Linked DNA regions of Homo sapiens: all the other regions are linked to region 5. Evidence: promoter capture Hi-C in 16 types of primary human blood cells and fetal thymus (Javierre and others, 2016). All regions are on one chromosome and are shown on one strand. The core of a region is centred on a gene start or on the middle of the fragment in contact, and the rest is flanking DNA. Distances in the headings are between cores, read along the strand shown.

Evidence for each region. The method cuts DNA at HindIII sites, captures the fragments that hold promoters and counts their contacts. A CHiCAGO score of 5 or more calls a contact.
Region 1: a contact is called between a fragment that was not itself captured here and the fragment with the promoter of NDE1 in region 5, in 1 of 17 cell types (fetal thymus). The highest score is 7.5, in fetal thymus.
Region 2: a fragment that was not itself captured here is called in contact with the fragment with the promoter of NDE1 in region 5 in 1 of 17 cell types (neutrophils); the score reaches 5.2 in neutrophils.
Region 3: the fragment with the promoter of VPS35L here is called in contact with the fragment with the promoter of NDE1 in region 5 in 1 of 17 cell types (fetal thymus); the score reaches 5.1 in fetal thymus.
Region 4: a contact is called between a fragment that was not itself captured here and the fragment with the promoter of NDE1 in region 5, in 1 of 17 cell types (fetal thymus). The highest score is 6.6, in fetal thymus.
Region 6: a contact is called between a fragment that was not itself captured here and the fragment with the promoter of NDE1 in region 5, in 1 of 17 cell types (fetal thymus). The highest score is 10.6, in fetal thymus.
Region 7: the fragment with the promoter of RPS15A here is called in contact with the fragment with the promoter of NDE1 in region 5 in 2 of 17 cell types (fetal thymus and neutrophils); the score reaches 14.2 in fetal thymus.

The regions. Positions count from the first base shown.
Region 1 is chr16:10,936,079-10,938,778 of GRCh38, reverse strand. CIITA (class II major histocompatibility complex transactivator) reads right to left here. Exons shown (of 20, transcript NM_000246.4): 20 at 2,385-2,700. All of the region lies in intron 1 of DEXI (Dexi homolog), which reads left to right. Among named protein-coding and RNA genes, the nearest start is that of DEXI, 5.0 kb to the left of the region's middle. The HindIII fragment of the contact is 5,264 bases long and covers 1-2,700 here.
Region 2 is chr16:10,956,447-10,959,244 of GRCh38, reverse strand. It overlaps CLEC16A (C-type lectin domain containing 16A), which reads right to left. Exons shown (of 24, transcript NM_015226.3): 2 at 1,335-1,463. Among named protein-coding and RNA genes, the nearest start is that of CLEC16A, 13 kb to the right of the region's middle. The HindIII fragment of the contact is 8,463 bases long and covers 1-2,798 here.
Region 3 is chr16:19,554,252-19,557,119 of GRCh38, reverse strand. It overlaps VPS35L (VPS35 endosomal protein sorting factor like), which reads right to left and starts at 1,417. Exons shown (of 31, transcript NM_020314.7): 1 at 1,374-1,417. The coding sequence starts at 1,390. RefSeq lists enhancers at 733-962, 821-1,783, 1,343-1,822. The HindIII fragment of the contact is 7,423 bases long and covers 636-2,868 here.
Region 4 is chr16:10,743,756-10,746,455 of GRCh38, reverse strand. NUBP1 (NUBP iron-sulfur cluster assembly factor 1, cytosolic) reads right to left here and starts at 2,614. Exons shown (of 11, transcript NM_002484.4): 1 at 2,574-2,614; 2 at 2,391-2,495. The coding sequence starts at 2,592. The HindIII fragment of the contact is 1,448 bases long and covers 595-2,042 here.
Region 5 is chr16:15,648,939-15,651,662 of GRCh38, reverse strand. NDE1 (nudE neurodevelopment protein 1) reads right to left here and starts at 1,418. Exons shown (of 9, transcript NM_017668.3): 1 at 1,369-1,418. RefSeq lists enhancers at 716-1,215, 1,216-1,717. The HindIII fragment of the contact is 10,572 bases long and covers 1-2,724 here.
Region 6 is chr16:18,806,598-18,809,297 of GRCh38, reverse strand. SMG1 (SMG1 nonsense mediated mRNA decay associated PI3K related kinase) reads left to right here. Exons shown (of 63, transcript NM_015092.5): 63 at 1-2,700. Among named protein-coding and RNA genes, the nearest start is that of ARL6IP1, 6.4 kb to the right of the region's middle. The HindIII fragment of the contact is 3,418 bases long and covers 1-2,700 here.
Region 7 is chr16:18,788,971-18,791,670 of GRCh38, reverse strand. RPS15A (ribosomal protein S15a) reads left to right here and starts at 1,337. Exons shown (of 5, transcript NM_001019.5): 1 at 1,337-1,427; 2 at 2,553-2,690. The coding sequence starts at 2,558. ARL6IP1 (ARL6 interacting reticulophagy regulator 1) reads left to right here. Exons shown (of 6, transcript NM_015161.3): 6 at 1-2. RefSeq lists enhancers at 1,100-1,729, 1,667-2,384. The HindIII fragment of the contact is 4,087 bases long and covers 1-2,700 here.

The DNA.
Region 1 (2,700 bases), core at 97-2,596, 4.7 Mb after region 5:
TCAGGGCCTGACCCTGGGAAGTGGGGAGGCCTGGAGAAGTGGTGGAAGCCATGCACAGCCTTCCCTCCTCCCCACCCTCAAATCCAAGCCAAGGAGGCCTTGCCCCCAAGTGCCGAGGAAGCTCAGAACCCCAGGGTATGAGAGGGGTAGCTAGCAGCAGGGAAGCCGCCAGGAAAGACCTCAAGATGATCTGACCGAGCCTCATCTCCAGGCCCCTTTCCATAAGCAGGGGAACGCCGGTAGTCAGTCCTGCTCTTTCTCAGCCATTCTCATGTGGTCACATGTGTTCCCCACACGCCAATCCAGGAAACAGTGACTAAGGGCGTGGAGCATGTCACACAGTGGGGCCCAGGATGAATCTCAAGATGAACAGGTGCACCTACTTTTGCTCCCTCTTTTTTTTTTTTTTCTCTTATGTGTGGACCCACATAATTCAGTTCCTCAAACATTTGCTGAGCACCTACTTGAGGAGGCAGTATTAGGGTCATGGTTAAGAGCCAGGGCCCTGGGTTCACATCCCAGGGTAGCTGTGACCTTGGGCATGCTGCTTAACCTCCCTGTACTTTGGTTTCCTCTTCTAGAAGATGGAAATAATGAAAATCTCCCTTGTTGTGAGGATTAGGTGAGATATACATAAAGCACTTAGATCTCCTTGTATATAGTAAGAGATGTATTAATATTAACCACTCATATTCATAGTCGGATACAATGGAAAGCGTGTTATACCCATGCCCTTGCAAATGTACAAACCTGCACCTATACTCATGCATGAATATTTATATCCTGTGAGCAGAAGAGGACAGGCTGCCTGAGTGCCAGGGAGGTCCAGGTCTAGCCTAGCTGGGGGAGACTTCCCACTCTGCCTTCCCAGCCCCAGGACCCTTAGGAGAACTTTCTTGCTGCCCTGTGGTCCCCAGGGCACCAGAACCCTGGATAGCCGGCTCTGTGGTTTTCCTAGAGTGTTAATTGTTGCCCAGGAGCAGGGAATGGGGAATCGGGAGCTCCCTCCTTCCCAGGAGAAAGGGCTGCAGTGGCTGGCCTGGGAGCCAGGGAGAGTCTTCACGTCCCAGCAGTTCTGGTGCAGAGGCAGCTCAGTTGGATTATTCGTCCCGGTTCCTAATGAAAGTGAAAGCTGCTGGTACCTGCCAGCCCTCTCTTGGCACACAGCGAGCTGAAAATGCAGAGACTGGAGAACGTTGCCACCAGAGTCAGCTTGTCCTGGTGCAGCTCAGATTTGGAGCTGAGGGTTATCGATGCATTGGTCTATCTTATTCCAGGATTTCCTAGGCTTCAGTTATCTCCCAACTAGGAACCACAGCTGCTCCTTCCTAACCTGGTCCCTCCTTGCCAATCTGTGGCCTGTGCTATCAGCAGAACCCCTGTGCCGGACATAGAGCTGCCCAGGTCAGAAACCCAAACCTTCCACAGGGACACAGTCAGATTTGAGTTATGGGAGATCCCACAGCCAGGGGTCAGGGCGGATGCAGGAAACCAGGCCAGGAAGCTGTGGCTGTCATCTAAGCAAGAGACAGACAATGGTGACACAGGGAGGCAAGTATACCCCCAGGCCTGGCCACCTCTCCAGCTCTGCTCCTGACATGAGGCTCACCCAGAAGGTCCTTGGCCATAGGGTACATTGGTGCCAGCTGCGTCTTCAGACAGGAGAAAACCCCAGTATGTGTCTCAAGACAGTGAGATGTCAAGAGTCCTGCTCTCTTAGCCCTGAATTATACAAACTGGAGATTTCAGCCAAGAAACAGGCAGGGTCTGCCCCACTTACAGCTCATGTGTCTGTTTTGCCGAACTAAGAAAGTGAGGGCTTCTCTCAATTTGGATATTCATATTTCTGGTTTATCTGCTAGCTTTCCTCCCAGAACTTCTGAAAGCATACTCGGCTTTTGGGAAACCTAAGATCACAATAAAAGTGGCAGACCTCTTTATCCCTGTCTCACAAATAAATGGAGGCACAGAATGGGGAAGTGGAGGCCGAGGGAACAAAGCCAACTAAGACTGCCAGCCCGGTTCCCTGGCCACAGCACTGAGGGTTTGAGGGGTGCCTCCAGTGAGGGCTCCCCATCCCCGACCTTGGAACACCAGCTCATAGTTTCTGCCAGGCCTATTTCATACGCACTCTTCCAACTTTTTCCTGAATTAAAAACAAACAAACAAACAAAAACCTCTGTTATGAAGTAATTTCACACTTACAGAAAAGTTGCAAGAGCACAAACAATGCCCGCCCAAACTCACCAGTTGCACCAGTTAGCACTTTGCTCATGTACACGTGCATGCTCTTCCCTCTGTTTGTATATGCATGCCTGTGTATATGCACACATGTGTATATGTGTAATTTTCATAAGCATTTGAAAATGGGTTCATTATGCACCTTTACTCCTAAATAATTCAGTATTTATTTCCTTAGAACAAGGACAAATTTGCATAACCACAGTAGGGTTGTCAAAATCAGCAAATCTAATATTGATACACTATACAATCCTATGACCAATCTCATCTACAACTTTATTCAAATTTTATAGAGGCTGAGGTGGAAGGATCACTTGAGTTTGAAACCAGCCTGGGCAACATAGTGAGACCCCGTCTCTACAAAAAGTAGGAAAAAAAAAATAGCGAGGTGTTGTGGTACACGCCCATAGTCCCAGTTACTCGGAAGGCTCAGGCAGGAGGATTGCTTGAGTCCGGGAG
Region 2 (2,798 bases), core at 291-2,790, 4.7 Mb after region 5:
TTGCTGATGAAAATATAAAGCTACCCTGAACCTATATTCAGGAACTTGCTCAGTGCTGCCTAATTCTGTCTGAATCCATGAAAAGGTAATATCCTTCTTATTCGGATATCTAATAAGAAACCAGGTTAAAAATAGAACACTTTTACTTTTCAAAAATGAGTTTTAAAAGTGGCCTCAATATTTATAATACAGACACACACACACACACACACACACACACACACACACACCCGTGTTTAGTGGTTGTCATAACCCAGCCCCAAATCCTTCTGCACTAAGACATCAAGGCAGATCTATTAGGGAGGTAGTTCACAGTTAACAGCCCTTGCTATTTTTTTTTTGAGACATGGTCTCACTCTGTCACCCAGGCTGGAGTGCAGTGGCAAGATCATGGCTCATTGCAGCCTGGACCTCCTGGGCTCAGGCAATCCTCCCACCTCAACCTTCTGAGTAGCTGGGAACACAGGCACACACAACCATGCATGACTAATTTTTTAATTATACGTAGAGACGAGGTCTCTGTATGTTGCCCAGGCTGGTCTCAAACTCCTGGGCTCAAGCGATCCTCCTGCCTCAGCCTCCCAAAGTGCTGGGATTACAGGTGTGAGCCACCGCGCCTGGCGGCCCTTGCTTTTTAACTGTCCAGTGAGGCACGTCTGTCTTTATCATTTGCTATCATTTATTCCTGTACCAGGCACTAGACAAAGAGAACTTTTTCTCTCTCTTTTAAAGGTAAAGAAACTGAGGCTTAGGGAGATGAAGAGCCTGGCTGAGGACTGCTCACCTAGGAAGTGGTGAGTTGCGGGACCCCTCACTGATTCTGGGTGTGTCACTTTTCCACCGCTTACCAGCTATGTGACCTTGAGCAAAAAAGGGGACACCAACAGGGCCTCTACCATGGGGTGGGTGGGAAACTTAGGTGGACCATCTCATCAGGAGCTCAGCCCTGTGCCTGGTCATCAGTAAACATGGTAACTGGGAGCCCTCAGGGACTCCCCCAGGGCACAGGCCTTCTGTTCATGTCAAATCTAACCACCAGACATGTTCTCCTTCCTTTGGGAAAATAATCAGACACAACCTGAAGGAAAATTACCCATGACATTTTCAGGTTTTCTAGAGACACTCATTTCCATAACTTCCCCATTTTTGGCTTGCATTTCTATAGTGCTTCAAGGGCATTTTTTTTTTTTTTTTACAGCTAGACAGAGATAGATATCTAGGCAAGATCAAATTAGCGTCAAATCCTGACATCATCCAGAATGACTCATAGTATACATTTAGAAAAACATTCAAAGAAGAATAATCAAAGAACAGCAATCATTAGAAACCCTTACTCAAATACAGAGCTGTCATTTTGATCTCCCCAGATCAGGATCTCAGTGATGGAACGGATGGTCTCCACTAGCAGGTTCCGGTTCTGTTCTGTGACTGTGGTGTTTTTGGTCAAAACGTGGTACAGATACCTGAGAGAAATGAGAGAAAAGGAAATTAAAGGTTACCAACTGAAATGCAAGCCAAGTTCCATGACCATTAGCAATATTTTGGAGACAATGCAGCAATGCTTTTTCAGGTTTGGGTAATGCAATTTCCCATTCAGATTAGATGTAACTCACAACCCCAGAAAAATAGCAGACAATGCTTTGAAGGGTTAAACCAAGGACACACCAACCCAGACGGAGACAAGAAAATCGTCAAACCCTTGAAGTCAACTACTCTCAAACTGCAGTGTGCAAGAGAACCACCCGGAGAACTGAATCAAGTGGGGGCTCCTGGAGCCCCCTCGGAAATTCAGATTCAGCAGGACTGAGAGAAGAGCAAGTAGCCACCTGTTTCATATGCTTCCCATCATGTTGATGCCTTCAGAGCAAGTGGGGACATACAGCTCAGGCTGGATGCCTAACACGGGGCCTGCAGCCAGGCTAATGTTGAGGTTTAGAGAGATGGAGCCACAGCTTAGGAAGGCTGGGTCCCACAGCAGTTGCTGGGACAAAAATCACATGCAATTCCCCTTGGAATGCTCACAATCCTTCTCAAGTGCAGTGAGCCCATCAGAACTTATGGCTCAAATGATCTGGGTGGTTTGCAGCCCAAGGGCAATGGTCTTATTTGCTGAGAACAGATTGTTAAATTCACTGAGTTAAATGGGCTGGCTGGGAGCGGTGGCTCATGCCTGTAATCCCAGCACTTTGGGAGGCCAAGGTGGGTGGATCACCTGAGGTCAGGAGCTCAAGACCAGCCTGGTCAACATGGCGAAACCCTGTCTCTACTAAAAATACAAACATTAGCTGGGTGTGGTGGCGAAGTCTGTAATCCCAGCTACTCTGGAAGCTGAGGCAGGGAGAATTGCTTGAACCTGGGAGGTGGAGGTTGCAGTGAGCCGAGATCACACCATTGCACTCCAGCCTGGGTGACAGAGCGAGAGTCTAAATAAATAAATAAATAAATAAATAAGGGCTGCAGAGGCTATGGTGCTGTACTTCATCTACCCAAACAGGCCTGAATGCCAGGTGCTGGAGCTGAGACAGGTAGACACCTTCCAGTCCTCAAGGCCTCTTTGCTGGTGGGGGAGACCAAAAGAATCACCGAGGCCAGTCCTGAGCAGCGCGGGGACCAGAAGCCTAGCTGGATGCCCTGGGAGTGCCACCGGGCACGGCTTTTAAGATGGCTTCTCCAGGGCCCACAGCCCCAGGTAACTTCACCTGTCAAGGGAGCTCAGGCTTGAGAAGGAAAAGCAGACACCAAGAGGAAGTGACTCAGGAAAAGGGCCCTCCTCTCCTGATTTCTTTTATGGCTAACTT
Region 3 (2,868 bases), core at 168-2,667, 3.9 Mb before region 5:
CTCACTGTTGCCCAGGCTGGAGTGCAGTGGCATGATCTCGGTTCACTCCAGCTTCCGCCTCCCAGGTTCAAGCGACTCTCCTGCCTCACCCTCCCAAGTAGCTGGGATTACAGGTGCGTGCCACCACTAATTTAGCCCAGCTAATTTTTGTATTTTTAGTAGAGATTAGGTTTCGCCATGTTGGCCAGGCTGGTCTCGAACCCCTGACCTCAGGTGATCCGCCAGCCTCGGCCTCCCAAAGTGCTGGGATTACAGGCGTGAGCCACCATACCCAGCCAGCATGACTATTAACTGAAAAAAAAAAAAAAACCTCAGGGTGTGGAAGTGCTCAGAGGCATTCAATGCTGATGTAGCGTGTCAAGGAAGCAGTCTCTTAAGTGTTGGGCAAATGAAAGGAATAAGACAAAATGAAGTGTTTATCAAGCTCAAAAGCAGAAGGTTGTACCTGATTATTTCTAAGGTCTTTCATTTGCTCATTTAATCTAAGCTACTTCACATCATTTGAAGAGAAAGTAAATTATCTCGCTTTCTGAGATGCAGGAGAGATTCCCCGTCCCCAAATCCCACTATCATCAACAACACAACTTCCTCAAGTTCTTCACTCACACACATACCACCTGCTGAACCCTGAAGCTTCAGTCACTCATTCCTAGCTACTCCAACCACAAGGGACCTACGGGCCTGCCAACCAGGCACACGCCACGCCCTCCCTATGGTGGACTCCTATTCATCCTCCAAGACCCAATTTAACTCCTCCTCTCTGAAGCCTTCCCCTAGCCCCCTGGTGGGGATAATCACTCCCTTCTTGGTGCCTCATCCGAATGCCTTCTTTAGACATCCCTCTACTGTGCGTCTGCCCCATTATACTGTCAGCTCCTTGAGGCCAAGGAATAAGTCTGAGGGCTGTGCCTAGGATAGGATGAATGGCGGCCATTTTACAGATGAGAAAAGCAAGTCTCCAGGTGAACAGAGGAGCTGAGGAAACTGACCAACAGCCAGATCTCCCGACTCGTCCAGACTTTAAAAGCTGAGTCCACCATTACCCTCATCCAGCGACCCCAGAACCCGCGCCAACTTCTGGGGACGCGGAAGCCTGGAAACTCAAGTTTTCTTTAGGGAATGAATGGACAGGGGCCCGTGGAAGGCGCAGAGAGGCAGCAGACGGGGAGAGAACCAAGAACCCGCCAGTCTGGCTTCAGATTGCTCCGCTGGACCGCGGTAGCGGCCAGGGATTCTACGGTCAAGACAACTTGGGGGTGGCCGGTCGACCACCAGAACCCGACAGAGAGGAATTCACACTCTCAGACCCAGGCCGACCCCATCACAAGTAAGGACAGCCCCTCTCCAAAGCCCACCCGCCGCTGCTTCCTTACCAAGGAAAGACGGCCATCTTCCCAGTCACATGACCGCTTGTTCTGGGGCCGTCTGCTCGGCTTCCCATCCTTACCCCGCCACTCCCCGCACCCCTCGGCCGCCATGTTTGTGAAGGGCAGCTGGCCGCCCCGCAGCGGCCGCACAGCACCTTCTGCAGACGCCATGCTTGTGAGGGGCAGGCGACGCTCCGCACAGCACAGGCTTCATTTTCAGCTGACGCCATGCTTGTGAGGGGCAGCTCCCCGCTCCGGACAGCCCGGGTTACAACTCCCGCCGGCGCCATGCTTCGGAGGAGCAACGTCGGCCACGGCCAGAGTGCCGTAGTTTCTATGAGTCATGATTGTAAAGGGCAGCTGTCTACAGTGCCGGGTGGTCCCGCCTGCGGGCGTCATGATGGTAAAGGGCATGACTGCTGCTTAGCTCACCTGCGTCCTCTAGGGGCAGAAAGGACTCCAGAAGGCGGCGGAGCGAAGACGCAAACTGAGGTTCAGCCAGTACCTGGTTTTGCGGCTAATACGCTGTTTGGCGTGGGACAGCCATGCCCCCTCTAGGCCGCTGCTTTACCCACTGCTTTGCGGGCGGTTTTAGACACTTGCAGAATGCCCTTCCCACGACTAGCAACCGAGGGCTGCCCTAGATCTAATATGATTGACTACAGCTAATGCACGTGGGGAAATTAGGGTTCGCATTTCGTCCAACTTGGCAAAGCAGTGTTTCTAGGAAGGTGGATATCCATTTCGACCACAGAACGTTTTTAAAAATTATTTTAGGCCGGGAGCGGTGGCTCAGGCCTATGATCCCAGAACTTCGGGAGGCCGAGGTGGGTGGTTCACCTGATGTCAGGAGTTCGGGACCAGCCTGGCCAACATGGTGAAACCCCGTCTCTACTAAAAAATACAAAAACTAGTTGGGTATGGTGGCGGGCGCCTGTAATCCCAGCTACTCGGGAGGCTGAGGCAGGAGAATTGCTCCAACCCGGGAGGATGAGGTTGCAGTGAGCCGAGATTGCGCCATTGCACTCCAGCCTGGGCTACAAGAGCGAAACTCCATCTCAAAAAAAAATTTTTTTTTTAATTATTACTTTTATAACTTACTTAGATATCCATTATGGTCCCTTAGAGAGAAAGCATTCGATGTTTTTATAACTCTTACTTTTCATTCGGGGGTGGTGGTCTGTGGTTGTTCATGAGATGGTGACCTATGACAGGGAAAAGGATCATCTCCAGAACGGGCCCTCCAGTGTTCAGCTCAGTATGAGTAGGAAAGTATATCCACTCGTACCTGCTATTCCCAACACTGGAAGTGAACAAGGGTTAAAGGGTGGCCACGGGAAAGCAAGGAGCTCTTCCCATACAGCCATGCATGTTATCACATGCAACATCTCAATAAGAGGTCAAGGTGAGGAGCCTTTTCCTAGGCTCACACTGCATGATTAGGCAGTAACAAGAGGAGGATTCTTAAAGTTGTGCAAATTAACAGCTTTGATGTGAGCTT
Region 4 (2,700 bases), core at 69-2,568, 4.9 Mb after region 5:
AGACACTTTTCATTGTCACAGGAGAGGTACTGCTGGCATTTAATGGGTACAGCCCAGATTGTGCTAAATGTCCTACAATGCACAGGACAGCCCCCCACAACAAAGAGTGATCCTGCCCCAAATGTCAGCAGTGCTGAGGTTGAGAAACTCTGATAGACAGCAGGCACATACTAAGTATCTGCCAATGAAACTATCTTATTTCAAATCCTTAAAACAATACACGAGGTATAAAGGAAATTAAAAAGTCTCATGACTGGCCAAACTCAAGTGAAAGTTAAGCCTGGAAACCTCCCAACACTGCTGTCCTCCTCCCCATCAACAGACAGCTGTTACTTCCCAACCTTGTGTCAAAGCATTCTACATTAACCAGACACCTGCAAAAGGCCAAAGGCCCCATGCAATCCATTGTGGGATGACTGCCCTCACAAGTTGCTCCTAAGGAACTCCTTTGCTGGCCCCTAAATCTTTGAAGATGAGTATCCTCCCATAAACAAGGACATGCCAACTGTAACTTTAGGACTGTAACCTCAGTCTAACTCCTTCCCTATTACTGATGTCTGTTAAACGCCACACTGACCATGTCCATTACAAGCTTATCCTCCCACATGCCAAACAAAGATGGGATGAGATAGTCCTTCCTCTCCTACCCTGAGACGTCTGCCTAATTAATTCTTCCTTTATTCCCTCTTTTGAATGTTTACTTTATTTTCTGAATAGTGTAGATATACTGGGCACGAATTAAAACCTCACAAGAATGTAACTACCTGCCACGAGGCCTACTGCACTTTTTCCTGCATGCTTTTTCCCCTTTTAATGAAATATATAAACACCAGCCTTCTGGAACCACTCCATCGAGCACAGGCCACAGATGTTTCTGTCACTTGTATTTTCCAGGGCACGCCCTCAAGCTCTGGCCCAATAAACCTCCACTGAGGCTCAGTTCAGTCTCTCCATTGCATTGACAGAGATAACTATTTTTCTCTTCATTTTTTTTTTTCTTTGAGACAGGGTCTCACTCTGTCACCCAGGCTGGAGTGCAGTGGCACGATCTCAGCTCACTGCAACCTCCACCTCCCGGGTTCAAGTGATCCTCCCACCTCAGCCTCGAGGGCGGGCATGCACCACCATGCTGGCTAATTTTTGTATTTTTAGTAGAGACAGGTTTCACCATGTTGGCCAGGCTGGTCTCGAACTCCTGACCTCAAGTGATCCATCCACCCGCCTCGGCCTCCCAAAGTGCTGGGATTACAGGCGTGAGCCACTGCACCCGGCCTGTCTCCATTTTTGATGAGGAACCAGAAGCTCAGAGAGGTTAGGACTATTGCTGAAGGTCACACCGCATGGATCCAAGAATCAAATCCAAGTCTCTCTCTGAACTCCTTCAAGATTCTCCCCCTTGGCCAGGTGCAGTGGCTCATGCCTGTAATCCCAGCACTTTGGGAGGCCCAGGCAGATGCATCACTTGAGGTCAGGAGTTCGAGACCAACCTGGTCAACATGGTGAAACTCTGGTTCTACTAAAAATATAAAAATTAGCCAGCCGTGGTGGCAGGCGCCTGTAGTCCCAGGTACTCGGGAGACTGAGGCACGAGAATCGCTTGAACCTGAGAGGTGAAAGTTGCAGTGAGCCGAGATCACACCACTGCACTCTGGTCTGGGCTACACAGCAAGACTCTGTCTAAAAAAAAAGGGGGAAAAAAAAGAAAAAAAAATATTGTCCTCCTGCCTCCTGCTTTTTAAGGTCCTTCTGAGCAGGCTCCCTGGGTCCTCTCATCCTGGAATCTGTGCTTCACAGCACTTAAAGCTGCGGTGGTTTAGTTGCTAGCTCACGTGTTTGTTTCCCCAGTAAAGCTAAACTCCACTAGAGCAGTGACCACGCCTGATCCCCAGCTGTGTCCCCAGGACAGCACCAAACCTACGAGGCGATCAACACATTTCTGCTGAATGAGTGGGAGAATCACTCCTCAAAAGGAAGAAAATTGTGTCAAGAAAGTAGCTGGCAGAGCCAGGATGTAAGTCCGAAGACTCCCCGACTTCGAAGCTTATCCCGTTTTTCTCTGCGGTCTGTTATTGTCACTCAAACCTCTGGCCCCGACCCTCTTAATTAATGTCCCTTTCGACTCCGCGCCGGTCAGTCTCCACCCTCCATCCGCGCCAGGTCCTTCGCGCTCGCCTTCTAAAGGCCTCGTTCCTGTCAGTCATTCCAAGCTCCGCCCTCACCCTGCCCACTTTCCACGCCCCGCCCCTTCTGGGCCCCACCCCTCTCCGAATACAATACCTTCTAGCCTGCCGCTGTCAGTCATTCTGCAGATCCCGCCCCCTCCCTCCCACGCCCCGCCTTTTCCGGGCCTGCGCCTCTAAGTTCCTGTTGAGGCCTTGCCCTTTTCTCACCCGTGTCCGGAGTGGCCCCCGCTCCAGAAGCGCACAGCCGCTGGTTGGGGCATCCCTGACATGAAGCCCCTCTGCCCGCCTGGGCGCTGTCGGCCCCTGGACAGTCTGCGCAGAGACAAGACCACAGTTAGAGCAGCTCCCGACACTTTCGCCCCGCGACCCACGCCCCCTCCGCGAGCTTACCGTGAGGCACCTCCTCCATTCCGTCGCCTTTGCCGCCTTCGTGGTCACCGGAACCCGCTGTCGTACATTTCCGCCTTGTGGGCACAATCTGATTCTCCGACCGCGCGAAATAAGTCTCGGAAAGGGG
Region 5 (2,724 bases), core at 169-2,668:
GAGACCATCCTGGCTAACACGGTGAAACCCCATCTCTACTAAAAATACAAAAAATTAGCCAGGCGTGGTGGCACGCACCTGTAGTCCCAGCTACTCCGGAGGCTGAGGCAGGAGAATCGCTTGAACCCGGGAAGCGGAGGTTGCAGTGAGCCAAAATCGCACCACTGCACTCCAACCTGGGCGAGAGTGAGACTCTGTCTCAAAAACAAAAACAAAAAAAAAAAAAAAAAAACGGGTTGTATACCAACGAGGTGATGGAGGCTGGGGTGGTCGGGTAACAAGAGGCTTTAGGAGTAGCTGGGATCTAATTAATCTTCAAAACACCCGACCCATGTCCTAAAATGCCATCCTATGCTAGAATACACTATAACAAAACTAAAAATGATGAACCTGCCTAGGTCGTGCTGCAAAGGCCTTTTCTTTAGAAAGTTAAAAGGGGCCTGAGGCTCAAAGTAGAAATTAAGAGGCACAACCTGGTAGTAACCACGGACAAAGCAATCAAGGAAGCTCAGGCCCTCAGGAGGCAGAAAGCCTGAGATGGCTCGGAGAAGATAAAGTCGCCTCCCCAAAAGCGGTGTCAAGGTGACAGCGGGGTTTCCCAGGACCTCAGAGACTCAGGTCCTCAGTGAGCCCAGCCATCACTCAAGCTGCGGAATAAGCATTTTCGTCCTTTACCCAATCCCTCCCCAAAGTGCTGTCAGAAGAAACCTGAACCGTCCTGCGGCAGAGACGGGAGCAAAGCGGAGAGCAGACTGCCCCAAACGTGTTCCCGGAGGGAGGGAGCAGGGTGGGTTTTTGGAAAGAGGCCTGCAGGGGCGGGACAGTGGGTGTGAGGGCAGGGGCAACGCTGCAATCGAGGGGTCTGGGGTCGCAGAGAAGCGGGTGGCAGGATGGAGGAATAGGAGAGAGAGAGAAAAGAAACGAGGGTCATCTAGGAGAGGAGTATGGGGAGGAAGGAAGAGGAGAAAGAGGATGGAGCCTGGCAGCGGGGTTTGGGGACCGGCAAGGCTTAACCACCCAGGAAGTCCCGGAAGGAGAAGAGGGCAACGGGGTGGGAGAGAGACCAACGCAGAAAGAGAAACAAAGTTGCCAAGGGCGAGGGGCCAGCGCGAGGAACGCACCGGTGGCAAGGCACTCAGTGCCTAACTTTTTAGGACGGGAGGCTCCAGGGAGGCGGGATTTTGGAGCCCAGGGACCGGGGGAGTCCAGGCGGCCGGGAAGCGACGCGCAAGCGAGGGGCGTAGGGGTCCCTGCCAGGCGGTGGCCCGGGGTCCCGGGATCCTGGGGCGGGGCAGAGGAGCTTTTCAGCCGCGGTGGAGGTCCCCGGACAGCCACCCCGACCCCAGCCCCGCGCAGCGCCTCACTTACCCGAGCAGGGGCGGCGAGGCCAACGCGGCGGCGGCGGCAGAGGCGGCTGCGAAGGGCGGTGCGGCCCCGGCCCTCCGGACCCCGCCCCCGCCCCGGAGCCTGCGGTCGGCGCCTCCCATTGGCTGCTGCTCTACGGTACCGCGTCCGCCTCGGCCAATCAGCGCAGAGCAGCGTCGTTTGGAAACTTTTTTCCCAGGCCGGGCGCGGCGCGGCCAAGCGGCGAAGGCTCCTGGCCGGAGGGGGTTTGAGAGGCGCCGGCTGCCGGGCGCTGGGCTGCGGCGGGCTGGCGGGCATTGGAGATGCTGCAGAACGCTGCCTGGACACCCGGGAAACGGGTTTGGGCTTGCGGGCCGCGCATTTCAGGAAAATACGCCGGCCTCTCCTTCACTTCGATTGCATTTTCCCATTCTTGCACTTTCTCCAAATCAGAAGGAAAGACAAAGATTCAGGCCCACTGAAGCTAGCAGTGCCCCGTGCCCTTCCTACTCCTTTACACCAAAAGTAGAATCTTCAGCATCATTATCTTCTCCAGAAGCAGGAGAACGTAGTGCACCAGAATTTGGTCATAAACTTGGCTTTGAGTCCTAGTCCTGCCCCTTACTAACTGTGTGGTCTTGGGAAAGTTGTTTAGCCTCTATGACTCCGTTTCCCCATCTATAAAACGCCATTATGGGTCTGGCGCGGTGGTCACGCCTGTAATCCCAGCACTTTGGGAGGCCAAGGCGGGTGGATCACGAGGTCAGGAGTTCAAGACCAGCCTGGCACATGGTGAAACCCCGTCTCTACTAAAGATACAAAAAATTAGCCGGATGTGGTGGCACGCACCTGTAATCCCAGCTACTCAGGAGGCTGAGGCAGGAGAATCACGGGAAACCGGGAGGTGGCGGTTGCAGTGAGCCGAGATCACACCACTGCACTCTAGCCTAGGCGACAGGGCAAGACTCCGTCTTAAAGAACAGACAAACAAACAAACGACATTATGCAGAGGACTAAATGACTTAACAGCATTTGTAAAAACGTTTAGAACAGAAATTTGAACTTAGTAAGTACAATATATGTATTTGTTAAATGATCTTGATTTTGTTTATTTATTTATTTTGAGATGAAATCTCCCTCTGTCTCCCAGGCTGGAATGCAGTGGCGTGATCTCCACTCACTGCAACCTCTGCCTTCTGAGTTCAAGCAATTCTCCTGCTTCAGCCTCCCGAGTAGCTGGGATCACAGGCCCGCATCACCACACCCGGCTAATTTTTATATTTTTAGTAGAGACGGGGTTTCACCATGTTGGCCAGGCTGCTCTCGAATCCCTGTCCTCAGGTGATCCACCCACCTCGGCCTCCCAAAGTCCTGGGATTA
Region 6 (2,700 bases), core at 73-2,572, 3.2 Mb before region 5:
AGAACAGCAGCAGACGTGTCGGGAGGTTAGCTGCGGAAAGAAATCGGGATGCCGCGGAGCACAGAGTGATTTGGAACTCCATTCCACCTGACCCTGTGTGTACAATCCAGGAAAAAAACAAACCCCACTCAGAAACAGAGAAAACTGGGGTCGCGAAGAAATCACAGCCAAGGAAGATTTGATGCATTCAGATTCTCGTGTAACACTTGTTGCTTGGCAACAGTACTGGTTGGGTTGACCAGTAAGTAGAAAAAGGCTAAAGGCTATGCGATATGAATTTCAGAAATGGACTGAAAATGGAGAGCTATGTAACAGATACACTACAGTAGAAGAACTTACTTCTGAAATGAAGGGAAAAAAACCACCCCATCGTTCCCTACTCCTCCCCACCACTTACCCGTTCCCCCTTTACCTAATCTAGTAGATTAGCCATCTTTCAAATTCACTTTTATTTCAGTCCTTATATTTCATATACTTCCGTCTCGATGCTGTTAACAACTTCTGATAACATGGAAAATTCAAGGATTGTTTAAAGGTCTGATGATCACACACAAAATGTAATTCCGGTTATTTAAGTCATTTCTGTGATTCTATCATGTACAGTTTCCAGAATTGTCACTGTGCATTCAAAAGTAATGAATCTAACAGACATTTGATTTAATGTACACTCCCTTTTGCTTATAGTGTGCATTTTTTTTGGAGGTCATTCAAATTTTCCCTCTTCTGTGATAGCTGTAGTTTCTTTCATAGAAAGTAGCTAATCCAGTGTAATCTTTTACCTTTTTAAAAACCAAGATAGAGTATCTATTAGAGTTTTACATTGTTGATGATAGATTAACAATAAAGTGATGTTCTGGTGGAGGTAGACTGAAATTTTTTTAATTCATGTTTTTCATTTGATACTTTTAATTTACACTTAGTAAATTAAAAGTTGTTTAATTTACTTGGCATTTTAGGACATGTACATGAAACAGTGAAAATGAGATCCACCAACATCTTTTATTAAGTTCAGTTATTAGTCTGTGAAGTGCTTTACTTTTTGCACAATTTTAATAGCTTGCTATTCAGTAATACATTATAGTGAATTCATGATCAAGGTTTCCTTAAATTTAGCATTGCATTTCAGTACTGACTGTGTAAGCTAAATTGCTGATCCAAAATAAAAACCCAGACTAGAATAGGGTTCTTAAAATCAAGTATCAATACAAAATAGAACACAATTAAAATCTTAATTGTTGGCTGGGCACAGTGGCTCACGCCTGTAATCCCAGCACTTTGGGAGGCCGAGGCGGGCGGATCATGAGGTTAGGAGAGCGAGACCATCCTGGCTAACACGGTGAAACCCCGTCTTTACTAAAAATACAAAAAAAATTAGCCGGGCGTGGTGGCGGGCGCCTGTAGTCCCAGCTACTCGGGAGGCTGAGGCAGGAGAATGGCGTGAACCCAGGAGGCGGAGCTTGCAGTGAGCCGAGATTGTGCCACTGCACTCCAGCCTGGGCAACAGAGCTAGACTCTGTGTCAAAAATAAATGACTAGATAAAAAAAAAAATTGTTTGAGTACATTTTCCCTGCATTTTAGAGATTAGGACAGTGGTCACTTTCTAGTTGCCGTCTTCACAGACAAACTTGAAAGGTATTAAGGAAAAAATTCCACATAGCTCTGGGCCTTTTTTGTATTCTGATTGCCACGTTAATCTGTAATCGTTAAGTACCCATGAAAGAATGTGTTTCAGTATCAGTGCTTTTTTGGTACTTTAACAAGTATTGTAGGCACGGTGGATTTTTTTGAAATACCCATGTGTCCAATAGCAAGTTAAGGAACCTAGCGCATCAAATTTTGTTTTCTTCATTCATTTGGAACCTTATTTTCGCAAAAAACCTAGCTGGAATAATAATGCCATATTGTATTTTGCACACTGCTTTATTTTCTAGAGGCTCTGGGAGCAAATTACATTCATCACATTACCTCTGCTCTCTCAAGATTAAAGTCTTTCAGCAACATTCTTTATTGTCATCATAAGGAAAAACTTTTATCGCAATGATAGTCAGTTCACATTAGTTTAGCACTATAGATAGTATTCAGAAATTGCTTTCTCTTTGGTAAAGAAGATAAATAGGTGAATTTTATTGCCTGTGTTTTCAGGCTTCAGAGGTACCTGGCACCTTACTCAAGCAAAAACAAAAAACAGCTTTACTTCAAAAGCATGTGCCTCTGGTAAATTATCCATCACTTTTGTTTTAAAGTGGTCCCTCCAAGAATAATGTGGCATACACAGTGGGTTTGGTTGTAAGGCAGATGTAATAGATGACTTCAAAAGCCTGCTCCTTACTGCACTCTGGACAAGGCCCTGGTCTGTATAGTTTGGCTTCCTCTGTTAAGTCATTCTACAAGGTGACTTGCCATTTGAACTTTCGTAAGAGACCTCAGCAGTTAGACTGAGAAAAGTTAGAGTGCTGTAGTTATGAAGTCATACATTTTTGATAAAATACCTGTGGAAAACCAGGGATCCTCTCCTGTTTCTCTCTCTTGCCTCCCCCTTTCCCTCCATTCCTCTGTCGCCTCCCCCTCTCCTCCACTTTCTTTAAGAATCAGGGGGTACAGAATAACCTACAAACAACCTCTTCAAAGTACCCTTGGAAATTGAAGTTCAATCTTAAGTTTTTTGCTGTCTTTAATTTACTAGAATTGCCTAATTTTTA
Region 7 (2,700 bases), core at 88-2,587, 3.1 Mb before region 5:
TTCATGTCTCACTTTCTTTATAACTTAGCCAATATAATATTTATGATTGGATTTATGAATCTGATTAATGAAGTACCCTGTGTGGTCCTTAGATGTCTATAAGGTACCCTACCTGTAATCCCACCACTTTGGGAGACCTGGGCAGGAGGTTCACTGGAGTCCATGAGTTTGAGGTTGCATTGAGCTGAGTGTACCCCTGCACTCTAGCCTGGGCAACAGAGCAGGACCCTGTCTAGGAAAAATTTTAAAAAAGAACAAAAATAAAAGGTTTAAGTTTTATTTAGCAAATATCCAGGTACCATGCTAGAGGGAAGAGGAAATGCAACGAATGAGCAGGGGCATTGACGTGTGAGAGAGGACGAAGCTGGAAGAACCGGCAGGGACAGAACTGGCTAAATGGTGCCTGTGTGGGCACCTCGTACCCCAGGGCCTTGCTAGCGTCTGGTACATGGGTGCTCAGTAAACAACTGTTGGGTGACTTTTGTCTGAACTTAACTTTTTAATTAAAAAAAAATTTTTAGCCGGGTGTGGTGGCTCACGCCTGTAATCCCAACACTTTGGGAGGCCGAGGTGGGCAGATCACTTGATGTCAGGGGTTTGAGACGAGCCTGGCCAACATGGTGAAACCCCGTCTCTACTAAAAATACAAAAATTAGCCGGGTGTGATGGCGGGCGCCTGTAATCCCAGGTACTCTGGAGGCTGGGGCAGGAGAACCGCTTGAACCCGGGAGGCGGAGGCTGCAGTGCGCCAAGATCGCGCCACTGGACTCCAGCCTGGGCGACAGAGCGAGACTCCTTATCAAAAGTAAACTAAAATAAAAATTAAGGCCCGCGCGGTGGCTCCCGCCTGTAATCCCAGCACTTTCGGAGGCCGAGGCGGGCGGATCGCAAGGTCAGGAGATCAAGAACATCTTCGCCAACTTGGGGAAACCTCGTCTCTACTAAAAATACAAAAATTAGCCGGGCGTGGTGGCGCATCTCTGTAGTTCCAGCTACTCAGGAGGCTGAGGCAGGAGAATCACTTGAACCCGGGAGGCGCAGGTTGCAGTGAGCCGAGATCACGCCACTGCACTCCAGTCTGGGCTACAAGAGCGAAACTGTCTCAAAAAAAAAAAAAAAATGTAGACGAACCTCCAACGAACGGCTCACCTTGCCTCTCCCAGGCCCCACCGGGGGAGGTCGATTCCATCGACTCTCAACTGCCAACCCCTGAGGAGGCTCCGCCTTTCCCTCACCCTCGTCCTTCTCCTAGGCGGTCCTTGTTTTTGCCGGGCCTTTGAAAGTCTCGCGATAGCTCTCCCGCTTCCCATAACTCCGTGCGCTCTCCCCTCCCGTCCTCTTTCCGCCATCTTTCCGCGCCGGTGAGTAGCACTCTCTGAGAGCTCCAATTTCATCCGTCTGCCATCGGCGCCATCCTGCAATCTAAGGTTCGGTCTCGGTGTCCTGCGAGGAGGCTGGTCCCCACCTTGGCCGAGGATCCTGGCCTTGCCGGTTCCTGGACAGGCATAGAGGAGAGCCATGGCTGGGCGCCCCAGACTGTGCACTCAGGGGATCCCGGTCCGTGGGGTGCAGGCCGCAGCGCGGGCGGGAGCCGGAGCCTTCGACTGCCCAGCTAGGCGGTAGCTCCGGTTCGGGCCGCAGCGTCTGGATCTCCCTTTAGTGCTGAGGCAGCGCCTTGGCCCCGGGCGGCGGGCAACATCGGGGCTGGTGGGCCGTGCAGCTTCTCACTGCTGCGGCCGCGCTGGGAGCTTGGGAGGCTGAGGCCACCCAGCAGGTAAAAGCTGCATCGTGCCGGGGTTGGCAGTTTGCTGGGTGCCAACTTGGATCTTCTGGGCCGCAGAGTTTTTCTTTAGACACTTTTGAACTTAAGGAATTTAAGTTCTACTCTTTACTATTGGCACTTTGGTCTTTCAAAACTTCAGTGTAGTGTGCGGTTCTTGCCCATTAGAAGAGAGTCCAGTCTGACAAGCATGTAAAATGTTTCTGTTTGCCACTGTGGCTCTTGCTGTTGGACGCAATTTTAAATGGCACGAAGATGGATGTTTAATAGTTAGATGTGTTCATTGTAGGTGAGAGTGAACTGATTTAAAGTACAATGTTAATAGTATGGAATCTGCTGATTTTCAGCAATTTGGAAAATGTTGCCGATGATACTCTGCTTCTGTTCTGAATCACTGATCGACTATACCCGATGTTTTCCTTCCGGTAGCTGGCAGTTTCTGCCAGTTCTCACGTTGTCTTGTGTCAAGTGGATTTTGTCCCACATTTTATTATCTCCAGACGTTGGTGTGTGGCACGATTCGAAGAAGAGTGGTTAGTGAATGAATGAGTTTCAAAATGTGCAGGCTGACGTCCCGATAACCTGTTTTCAACAACCGTAGTAAATAGGAATTTTCCTGGGTGGTGGGAAATGGAGAAGCAGCCTGCTTAGACTTGAGAAAACTTCGCCAAGGTGGGGCCAGAAAGGAAAGGATACTTCCGCAGTGTAATGGTTGGTGTCTGTTGATGTTGGCAATGCCAGTAAAACCTCCTGTTTTGTCTTCCTTGAACAGCCACAATGGTGCGCATGAATGTCCTGGCAGATGCTCTCAAGAGTATCAACAATGCCGAAAAGAGAGGCAAACGCCAGGTGCTTATTAGGCCGTGCTCCAAAGTCATCGTCCGGTTTCTCACTGTGATGATGAAGCATGGTAAGTCTGC